Regions from separate parts of the Homo sapiens genome. Here all the other regions are linked to region 2. The links are contacts of gene promoters, found by promoter capture Hi-C in human tissues and cell types (Jung and others, 2019). All regions are on one chromosome and are shown on one strand. The core of a region is centred on a gene start or on the middle of the fragment in contact, and the rest is flanking DNA. Distances in the headings are between cores, read along the strand shown. Region 1 has its middle 110 kb from the start of SPRY2. Region 2 holds the start of RBM26 (RNA binding motif protein 26). Region 3 overlaps LOC105370276 (a long non-coding RNA gene). Region 4 has its middle 66 kb from the start of LINC01080.

Evidence for each region. The method cuts DNA at HindIII sites, captures the fragments that hold promoters and counts their contacts. A contact is called where the count stands out against the background at its distance.
Region 1: a contact is called between a fragment that was not itself captured here and the fragment with the promoter of RBM26 in region 2, in 1 of the 25 tissues and cell types used here (dorsolateral prefrontal cortex).
Region 3: a contact is called between a fragment that was not itself captured here and the fragment with the promoter of RBM26 in region 2, in 1 of the 25 tissues and cell types used here (mesendoderm cells).
Region 4: a fragment that was not itself captured here is called in contact with the fragment with the promoter of RBM26 in region 2 in 2 of the 25 tissues and cell types used here (dorsolateral prefrontal cortex and hippocampus).

What each region holds. Positions count from the first base shown.
Region 1 is chr13:80,227,742-80,230,441 of GRCh38, forward strand. No RefSeq gene overlaps it. Among named protein-coding and RNA genes, the nearest start is that of SPRY2, 110 kb to the right of the region's middle. The HindIII fragment of the contact is 3,415 bases long and covers 1-2,700 here.
Region 2 is chr13:79,404,894-79,407,593 of GRCh38, forward strand. It overlaps RBM26 (RNA binding motif protein 26), which reads right to left and starts at 1,362. Exons shown (of 22, transcript NM_001366735.2): 1 at 811-1,362. The coding sequence starts at 881. It overlaps RBM26-AS1 (RBM26 antisense RNA 1), which reads left to right and starts at 1,416. Exons shown (of 7, transcript NR_038991.1): 1 at 1,416-1,584. RefSeq lists a silencer at 918-1,117 and enhancers at 1,027-2,018, 1,348-1,647. The HindIII fragment of the contact is 11,102 bases long and covers 1-2,700 here.
Region 3 is chr13:80,364,946-80,367,645 of GRCh38, forward strand. LOC105370276 (a long non-coding RNA gene) reads left to right here. Exons shown (of 4, transcript XR_001749939.2): 4 at 1-1,107. Among named protein-coding and RNA genes, the nearest start is that of SPRY2, 25 kb to the left of the region's middle. The HindIII fragment of the contact is 3,828 bases long and covers 1-2,700 here.
Region 4 is chr13:79,943,556-79,946,255 of GRCh38, forward strand. No RefSeq gene overlaps it. Among named protein-coding and RNA genes, the nearest start is that of LINC01080, 66 kb to the right of the region's middle. The HindIII fragment of the contact is 4,166 bases long and covers 1-2,700 here.

The DNA.
Region 1 (2,700 bases), core at 179-2,678, 820 kb after region 2:
TTGTGAAAATACAGTGTTTACAGCTGGTGATTATTTATTATATTATTCACCAACAGGTGCTTTGCAGAAAATAAATTAATCTACCATGTGCTTTTGAACTAGTAGTATAAATTTCACGTGCTCTTTTGAGCTAACCATGATCAGTTCCATGATTTTATTTGGTCAAAAATAGAAGCTAAATATTCCGACTTGCCCTACCACCCAGGAATTTGATGGTTTAGCAGTAAGAAAGTTTAACTGTGATTTTTTTTTAAGCCCAGGACCAAGATTGATTTTTTTCTGCAAGAAGGATTCTCAATCACTATTATGAAAAACCGAATGGCTTTGGAAGTTAGCCTTTGCTGCAGACTTGAAAATGTTTCTTCATAAACTCACCCTAACATTGCAAGGTCAAATAGCACTACATGAGAAATTTATACTTCAGTGAAGACATTTTGACAAAAACTAACATTGTTTAAATCACCAGTAATGTTAAGCTGCTTTATACATGTCCCATTCTGTCAAAGGTTAAAATAAAGAGCAAGATCTTCATTCCTACAAAAATACATAGTGCATGTATCTTTTGACCCCCTACTACAGTTCAAGTAACATTTTCCAAACATGGTACAAGTATGAAGGAAATTTCTATGTTTCAAAAAATCCATTTAAATATATAATTCAGGAGCTTCTGCCTAGTACTCAACTTGAAGTTAATAATCTGAGATGTAATCACATCCTAAAATGCAAATATCAGGAAAAAACATAATAGAATTCTTATATAAATTATTTCCAAGTGATAAATAAGCTCAGTTAAAGTCAGATGCTAAAAATAAACACGTGTCTGTCTAAAAGCACATTTTCCAAGATGAAATAGATAAAATATCATACACATTTTACAAATCAACATTAACAGATAAACATGTGCAATCAATTTTGATCATAGGAAACACTAATTTTGAACCCCAATTAAATAAAATATTATCCCCACAAAAGAATTGTATTCTCATTAGTAGACGTATGTTACACAAAAGTTATACTCAATTATTACTATATTTTAAATTTGATCAATAAAAATTTCATTAAAAATTTACTTTTTTATTATTCAAGAGCAATTGTTCCCTCAGTATCCATAGGGGATTGTTCCAGGACACTCATGGGTACCAAAGTCACTGGATACTCAAGTTCTTGATATAAAGGGATACAACATTTACATATAATCTACCCACATCTTCCCATACGCTTTAAATCCTCTCTAGATTACTTCAAATACCTAATACAATGTAAATGCTATGTATTGTAGTCTGTTTTGTGTAGCTATAAAGGAATACCTGAGCCTGGGTAATTTATAAAGAAAGAAAGGTTTACTTGGCTCACAATTCTGATGTCTGGAAAAGTTCAAGATTGGACATTTGCATCTGGTTAGGGCCTCAGGCTGTTTCTACTCATGGTAGAAGGTGAAAGGGAGACGGTGTCTGCAAAGATCACGTGGCGAGAGGCACAGTGGAGGTACGAGGCTCTTTTTAACAATCAGGTCAATGGATTGGTAACCAATGGATAAGAATGGTCTTGTAATTATACAGAGCTTTGCAATGAGTTGAGAGAGAACTTTTGATTGTTATGATGATGATACTTCTTATAATTTTGTTATAGTGTTATGAATAAATTACTCTCTTAAATACTCTTGGAAATAAACTCAATATAAATAAATAATAAAAGTAATTACAAACAATTTCTAAAAAATTAATTCTGCCAACTTTTCCATTAAGAGTTCATAGATACAAAGAACATATGGATGCTAGAACATGCTTGTTTGTTTGCTTATTTGTTTCATGCAATAATAAATTGTTTTCATCAAGCCTAATTTTAACACTGCATTTTAAATAAGCTTATTTTCTGATATATGTTTATATTTCTAATGGAAAATTGTATTCTAAAAAATCGAAGTAAAATTAAATCATATTGTTAAGAATAATGTCATTTCCTGCATTATATTTACATAATAGATTAAGCACAATTAGGCCATTTGAAGTACTTGCAAATTATCTCTTTCTCTTGTCTATTTTATACCTATCCATCTCTCTATTTTGTAACTGCCTCTCTCTCCATCCCTGCTTCCACTGTTTTTTTCTTTAAAATCTTATTATTTTTCCTTGGAAATGGTCTCTGAATCACTCTGATTGTATTCAATAAATTTTTATTAAATGTTCAATGACTAAATCAGAACTGGGTCACTGTTGGAAGCACAATTATCAGGCTGGCTTCCCTCACTCCATTAACTGAACTCCCATCCATCCAAATACACAAAACGACCTTTCTAAAATCCTAAACAAATCTTGTCACTCCCTGGTATAATAATCTATTTTCAATGCCTTCCATTTAAAACCCTGGGTGCTTAACATGACACATAAGACCCTTTGTAATAATACCCAAGCCTACTTCAGCCTCATTTCCTGCAACTCCTGCATGTTTCCCCTGTAGCCATTCTCAGTGTCCCCAAAGCATCAGGATTCTTTTTTTGTTTTTTCATTTGGTGTCTTTGCTCATATGGTTCACTCTCGTTTTATTCAGACCCTCTATTTTTCTCTTTCACTTTTTGAATAACTCTTCCTTATTTTTAAAGGCCTTGTCATCTGGATAAATTTCTCTCTGTCTATGCTCTCTGCCCCCAATTTAAGTGATTTCTCATGGCTCATATTATACTGATGCATAAGCATGTATTAA
Region 2 (2,700 bases), core at 112-2,611:
ATACAGTAGGTACCTAATAACTTTATTAAATACGTGAATTTTCCCCATTGCATTATTGTAAATCAACCAATTCTGATTAAGCACTTTGGTCCATGTCATATTTTGTATTAACAAGTCGTCAAAACACTCCTTAAATTTTCCAATCTAAGACTATTTCAGCACTCTAACCGCAGCCCCCAACACAAAATCTATCTATAGCATCCCACTTAAAACTGCTAAATATTCCATATGGATGAAGATTCAATTTTCTTCCTCCTCTCCAAGCTAACGAACGCGTAGGCGGGAAAGGGGAATTTTACTGGCCACCTCAGCACCTGTTACATCTTCAATCAGTGAAGAGAGGTGCAGATGAGCCAGACAGCACATGGGAGACGTGGCCTTGCTTTCAGGAATTATATTTAGGTGAAACGTGAGTGATTTAAGCTAGAACTGCCCGAATCCCCAATAAAGGCCGTCTACTTCATTTAGAAAAACAAGGTAAAATAATCTGTAGGAAGTAAAATACAGTCGGTTTCACTAAAATAAACCGATTTTGAGGCCCCCGGAAAATATTGCGGGTGGGGGTTGGAGACGGTCTATATATAACGGGAAAACGAGAGCAGCTCAGCAATAAAATAAAGCTCGACTCAGGCTCTCGGGGGTATCCTGAATCTGGAAGCGAGGTGGACGAGGAGGAGAAGCCACAGAACCCTGGGACCTCCGTTCACCGCTTCGGCCTCCACCGCAGGCACTTGGGGAAACTGCACAGATCTCTGGGTCCGCCTATCTCCCACTGCCATCCCTGCAAAGAGATATCCCCCGGATACTCACATGGGCTCGAGAGTCTTGCTGAGCCAGGACTTGAGTGCCTCGAAGTTTTCAATGATCATTTTAGAAACCATCCACAGCGGCCCTAAGGCCCGTCACACTCCTCCGCCCGCCCAGGTCGCGGCCGCTACAGCCGCCGCTGCCCCCGCCCCCTCCTCCGCGCGCCGCCCGCGTGGGCCGCGGTGGGAGGCGCCGGTGGCAGGTTCCCGCGGGCCCCGGTCGGCGAACAGCTCTGCAAGGACCGCCGCAGGCCACAAGTGCACGGGGTGCCAGGAGCTCCCCGTCCCCGGCCCCCAGCCCGGGCTGAAACAGCAACGGTTTGCCCGGGCCCTCCCCCTTCCCTCTTCCCCAGCAAATCTACCCAGACCGGAAGCGCGACACGCGCTTAGACCCGAGCCTTCTCTCAGCCTCGGGACCAGGTGCTTGTTGGCTACGTCGAAAAGGCAAAAGTAAAGAAAGCGAAGGCGAAGGGCAGCTCAATGGGAACGATTCAGGGGGTCTTCCCGGCTCCCAGCACCCCCAAGAAGATGGCTGCCGGTAAATCTCGCGAGAATTGATGAAGTCTCGCGGTGGCTCCCGGAGCCTGCTGGGAGAGACGTAAGGTCGGCGGAGAATGCGCGGGTCGAGTGCTGTAGTTCGATTTTTGCGTGTGTGCGTTGCTTGCGGCCTTTGTGCCTTTTTATTCTTTGCTTACCTTTATGATATAAAGACCTTATTTCTTACAAGGAGGAAAAGACCGCTGACTTCAGAAACAGCGGGAACCCCAGCTCGTCCCCGGTAAGACGGCCGTGGCCTGTCAGCTGGAACGGTCCTGCCGGATGGATCGCTCTTTGAGAGCGTACACTCCCGCGTGCGCGACACCAGGCGGCCCGTAGGTTCCAGGTGCCGAGCACACTACCTCCTCAGTTTACCTAAGTGCCCTACCAGTATCATATTCTGTGTATGCTGTGATGTGAACGAGGTTTGTAAACACAGGCTGGTCTAATGGAGCCCAATGAGACCGCCAGAGGATTAGTGTCTTGTCCAACAGTACTTGACTTGCTGGTAGAGCCCTAATGACTGAGGGCTGCCCACAAGGGAAAGGTGAGAGAACCTTCACGTCTCTCAGGTAGTTTCCAGCCTGCACTTTCCCCCAGCTAAAGATAAGTTTTGTTATTTTTAAAATTCTCTTTATTTAGAGCAAATTCAGCCCTATCTCAGATCGGGAAATTATATAGTATCAAAAGAGAGAGTCTTCATATTAGCAACCCAAATAAATAAACTATTTTCCTGGGTGATCAAATAAGTTTGATTCCTGCTTGAGTTCTATTTAGATACTAGGTGGAATTTTACAAAGGGTCTACGTTCCATGAACTGTAATGGAATGAAAATATTCACAATCTAAAGACATTTTCAGTAAGTAGATCAATAAAAGCTCTTTATGAGAGACACCGATAGGCTAAATTGTTCTTAGGAACTCTTGAGTTTATAATTTGCTAGAGTGAAGTGTCTTTAAGGATTAGGTGGAAAGATTATGAACTACAAAGCAAGACATTTGTTTTAAAATACAGCATATAGAGTAGAATACAAATTAGAATCCAGCTACTGAATAACCAGGGTGTTGATTAAAGTGATTTAGCTGAGTGAAATAAACCAGACATGAAAGGACAAATATTATGATTCCACTTACATTAAGTACCTAGAGTAGTCAAAACTCCTAGAGACAGAAGGTGGAATGGTAGCAAGAGCAGGGGTGGAGAGGGTGCCCAGGAGAAGGGGAAATGAGGAGTTATATTTCAGTGGATAATAGAGTTTCAGTTTAGGATGATTTAGATTCTGGAGATGAGTGGTGTTGTGTGGGTTGCACAATATGAATGTACTTAATGCAGTGGACCATATACTTAATGAAAACGG
Region 3 (2,700 bases), core at 135-2,634, 960 kb after region 2:
TCTCAATGAGCTTCTTAAAGAAGCATTTTTAATGGTAGGTTTTAGGGAGAGTTTTTGTAGTAAGATAAAGTAGATGAGAAAGTGTTGCCTCTAAACAATCAACAAGCTGGGAATGGGGTGCAGAATGAGGAGAACCCTAAGCAATAGGCAATAAGGAGTGAAAGGAAGGAGGTGTCACTCATTGGGAAAGAAAAGGAACTGTATGTCCTCTACTGAGAGCTGCTGTCTTCTTAAAAGTCATTTTTGTGAGGTGTGCTTGCGGAATGGTAAAACAGAAAGGAAATAACAGAGTAGAAGGTCAGATCTCCCAAATCAACCTTACTCATCACTGGTGTGCAAGATACCATCATCAGATCATTTTAACACTCTGGAAAATACCACGGAGAGGTTTAGCAAGTGACAATTAACATCAGGGAGAAGCAGTTTCTAATAAGGAGATCCAGCCATTGCTGCTGGAGTTTAGATGTGGAATTTCTAGGCTCTGGAAAGTGTAGAGGCAGAAATGAGGTGATTACTTTCCTCTCCATCATAAGCATTATGGCTAACACCCCTATAACAAAGGCAGGTTATCAAGAAAAAAGAATAATACATTTATTTAAGCACAGTTTGATATGATATGGGAGGCTTCAGAATGAAGACCCAAAGATGCAGGGAAAATTGTTGCGTTTTATGCTGATGTTCAATGAAGTATGGATAGCCATATAAAATATGATTGGACAAAAAGGATAAAATCTAATGCTTTGATGCTAATAGACAGAGTCAGGAAACTCGGCAAAGCCTGTCCAGATTTTTCTTGGTCTTTCTGTACAGCATTATTTTGTTGACAAAAAAAGCCAAACTCTGTAAGATATTTGAAGAGGTTTATTCTGAGCCAAATATGAGTGGCAGGGCCTTTGACACAGCCTCAGGAGGCCCTAAGAACATGCACCTAAGAGGATTGTGTTACAGCTTGGTTTAATACATTTTAGGGAGACAGAAGTTATAGGCATGTAAGGTATACATTGGTTTGGCCCAGAAAGGTGGGACATCTCAAAGTGAGGGGGGAAGGTGGGGAAGGGGAGCTTCTTCGTCATAGATGGATTCAAAGATTTTCTGATTGACAATTGGTTGAAATAATTAAGCTTGGCTGGGTGTGGTGGTTCACGCCTGTAATCCCAGCACTTCAGGAGGCCAAGGGAGGTGGATTGCTTGAGCTCAGGAGTTCAAAGCCAGCCTGGGCAACATGGCAAAAACCCGTCTCTACTAAAAATACAAACATTAGCTGGGTGTGGTGGCACATGCCTGTAAACCCAGCTACTTGGGAGGCTGAGGTAGGAGTATTGCTGGAGCCTGGGAAGTCAAGGCTGCAGTGAGTTGTGATTGCACCACTGCATTGCAGCCTGGGTGACAGAGTGAGACCCTATCTCAAAAACAAAACAAAACAAAACAAAAATAATGATAATAATTAAGCTTTGCCTGATGACTTGAAGTCAGCATAAAGAAATGCTTGAGTTAAGATAAGGAGGTTTGTGGAAATCAAGGTTCTTACTATGTAGGTGAAGCCTCTTAAATAATAGATGTAAATGTCTCTTATGGGACATAAAAGATGCCAGACTCTTACTTAAATCTCTCCTGGGTCAGGAAAAGACAAGGAAAGGGAAGGGGATTATTTACTGAATGTAGATTTTCCCCACAAGAGACAGCTTTGCAGGGCCATCCAAAAATATTTCAAATAAATATATTTTGGAGTAAAATACTTTGTTTTTTTTTGGGGGGGGGGCCTGTTATTTGTCATGTGATACTATAAGAGAGTTAGGTTGAATTTGCTATCTTATTGCTACAAAGAATCTGTTTCGTCAGCCTTATGATCTCTATTTCTTTCTTTCTTTCTTTCTTTCTTTTTTTTTGAGATAGTCTTGCTCTGTTGTCCAGGCTGGAGTGCAGTGGTGTGATCTTGGCTCACTGCAACCTCTGTCTCCCGGGTTCAAGCAATTCTCCTGCCTCAGCCTCCCAAGTAGCTGGGATTACAGGCACCTGCCATCATGCCTGGCTAATTTTTGTATTTTTGTAGAGATGGGGTTTTACCATGTTGGCCAGGCTGGTCTTGAACTCCTGACCTCAGGTGATCCACCTGCCTTGGCCTCCCAAAGTGCTGAGATTACAGGCATGAGCCACCACACCCAGCCTATGATCTCTATTTCAGTGTTAATGCTGGTCAGTGGTGTCTTAACTCTGAAGAGAACAGAGTATAATAAGGCATGTCGGACCCCACTTCTTGTCATGGCCTGAACTAGTTCTTCAGGTTTCTTTCAGATCACCTTGGCCTAGAGGGGGGTCTATTCAGTCAGTTGAGAGGCTTAGGATTTTAATTTTTGCTAACGCTTTCCTTTGGGATATGGAGCAGGACCCCTCTGGAATGAGGGTCTAATTTCCTTATGGCCAGGTATTACACAGAAAGATGGGGGAAGGATAGAGTTGTATTTTTAGGCTTTAGGACTGACTTTAGAGAAAAAGCGTTCTAATTTCTATGGCTTGCCTCAGGGAGAATGAGGGGCAAGAGACAGGAGGGCAGAAGGTTGGAGAGAGACTTTGCTTTGCAAGCCTTCGCTTTGGGGTTTCTTTTTCTGAACCCCAACATTTCTCATTCTGAAACTTCCTCAAGAAGTTTCACAGTCCAAAAATTGATTGATAGATTGTCTCATAAGCCATTGAATCAGTCTC
Region 4 (2,700 bases), core at 71-2,570, 540 kb after region 2:
TCATTTCTCCTTCACCCACTTCATGCTAGTCACAGGGCCCATCTTTCAGTTTCTCATTTTCCTGAGGTCTTTGCATATAGTCTTCCTTCCGCAAGAAAGCTCTTTCCCTTCCAGGATTTTTGTCTTCTTCTCATTCATTAGGATCCCCTTGCCTTCTTTAATTATTCCATCCATACACAACCCCATGTTATTCTCTATTTCATCATGCTCTTCTTTTTATTTCACTTCCTATTTTGCAATGATGTGTTTGATGATTATTTATTGTCATCCTCTCACTGAGTTAAAGGCAGATGCTTCGTTTTGCTCACCATTGCACAACCAGTCACTCCCTGGGTCTGAGTAAACAACTGTTAAATGAATAGAAAAATTAATTAATAATCCAGGTATGTAAAGTCCTTAGTCAAGTGTATGCCACATGACAATAAAAACTTAAAAAATTAAAGCTTAATAAAACTTAAACAATAAAAGCTTAATAAAACCTATTTTTATTACCACAGTATTGATGGCCTCAAGTCATTATTGCTAAATATGTATATAAATGTATGGGGAATATCTAAAGAATGGTGAGAAGTTTGGGCATTTTCTACATGATTATCATATATATTCTTAGGCTGATTCAAATTATTCACAATTTAACGTAAATCCCCAAATAAACATGCAAAAGAATAATAAATATATGAAAAGATATTAAAACCAACTGAAAAATATGGAAACAACAATGAGATGTCATTTTTCAACTATAAGATTGGCAAAGACAGAAAACGTTGATACTATTTTGTATTGGCAAGTATATGGAAAAATGGACCCTCATGGATATTTCTGAAGGGCAAATGAGATAATACATAATGAAGTTTCAAATATGCGTGCATACCTGGGACCAGAATTTCAGTCCCAGGAAATTACACTATAAAAAAAGGACAAGATTTAAAAATTTGTATATAAGAATATTTAATCCAGGATTTTCATAATACAAAAAATTTAGAACTTTATAATAAATACTTTATTATAATGCAGAAAATTTGGGAATAACTGTATTATAAATAATGTTGTATTTATAACTGCTAAGCATAAACTGATACAACAAGCTTAGAAAACAATTTGACATTATCTTAAAAGTTTAACCTGACCATGTCCTGTAGCCAAAAAATTCCAATCTTTAGGTATATATTTTAGAGAAACTTGTACATGACCTACAAGAGACATACAAGAATGTTCTTAGCAACATTGTAATACCAAAACTGTTTGAGATGTACCACTTTCAGCATTGTTTAAAGCATTTTAAAATTTCTATTTTTTTTTTTTCTTGGATCCATGTATTATGATTAGAGAACATAATTTGCATGATATTTATGCTTACATGATGTTGACATTTGCTTTAAGCCCTGGCACATGGTTGATTTTGTAAATGTTCTGTGCATTCTAGATAATGTTTATTCTTCATTTGTTAGGTACAGAATTCTATTAACATATCAAATTTATTATATTCACATATTTTAAATATAGATCACTTAGAAATTTATTTAGCTATGTGTAAGTTTTTCCTTCTCCCTGCAAGAAAAATCTCTTTCCTCTTTCTCTCTTTTTTTCTCCTTCCCTGTACCCAATAGCTTCAATATTTAATGTCCTAATTGAAAGCATCTAATTCCATTTTGACGGCTTTTGTCAGCTCCATTGAAATAGTTTTATTGGGCTTGTGTTTTGTAATTGTGAGCTGTGAGCTCATCTTCCTCTGAACCCTACATCTGGCAATTCCCTGAGGCCTAGGTATGTCTCTCTAAAGAGTTCCTTTTTGTTTTTTGTTAGGCACCCTTAAATTTGGGTATGATTTTAAATTTATCAGCCTGGGGTTTCTCAGATCATGTACATTGTATAAATTTGAGGCCAGGTGCAGTGGCTCATGTCTATAATCCCAGCACTTTGGGAGGCCAAGGTGGGTGGATCTTTTGAGGTCAGGAGTTCGAGACCAGCCTGGCCAACATGGTGAAGCCCTGCCTATACTAAAAATACAAAAATTATCAGGGCATGGTGGTGGGTGCCTGTAGTTCCAGCTAATCGGGAGGCTGAGGCAGGAGAATCTCTTGATGGTGGAGGTTGCAGTGAGCCGAGATTGTGCCACTGCACTCCAGCCCGGGTGACAGAGCGAGACTCTGTCTAAAAAAAAAAAAAAAGAATTTAAATATATTGAATTTGAATTATATAAATTGAAATTTGAACCCCACACCTGTGTACCAGCTGACTTTAGTTGCAAGTTCTCAGAGGAGATTTTTTTCCTACCCAGTTTTCAGGGGGAACCAAAATGTAACCTTATAGTTCCCTTTGCTTTTTGATAGATTTTTCTAATCCCCTTTTTACTGATGAGGTACTTTTCCTGATCCTGAATTTATGCAGGGGGTTTAGTTCCAACTCCTGTATTTCATAGGCCCAAGGCCATGTCTCCAGTCTCTAGCACTTCATTTTATCTTAAAACCTAAACCTTCAAACTCAGGTATTTACAAAACTCTGATATCCACTACACCATTGGTCTCAGCTTACCTCTTTGGTTCCTATCTCCTTCCTAGCCTTGAGTCTTTGAGTATTTTGTATTTTGTCAGCTTTATTATGCATTTTTAAAGGGTCTGCACTAACACATTTGCTTCATGGTGCTGCTGTGAAATTAAATGAAATAATACACATACAATATTTGCTTACTGCCTGAATTAT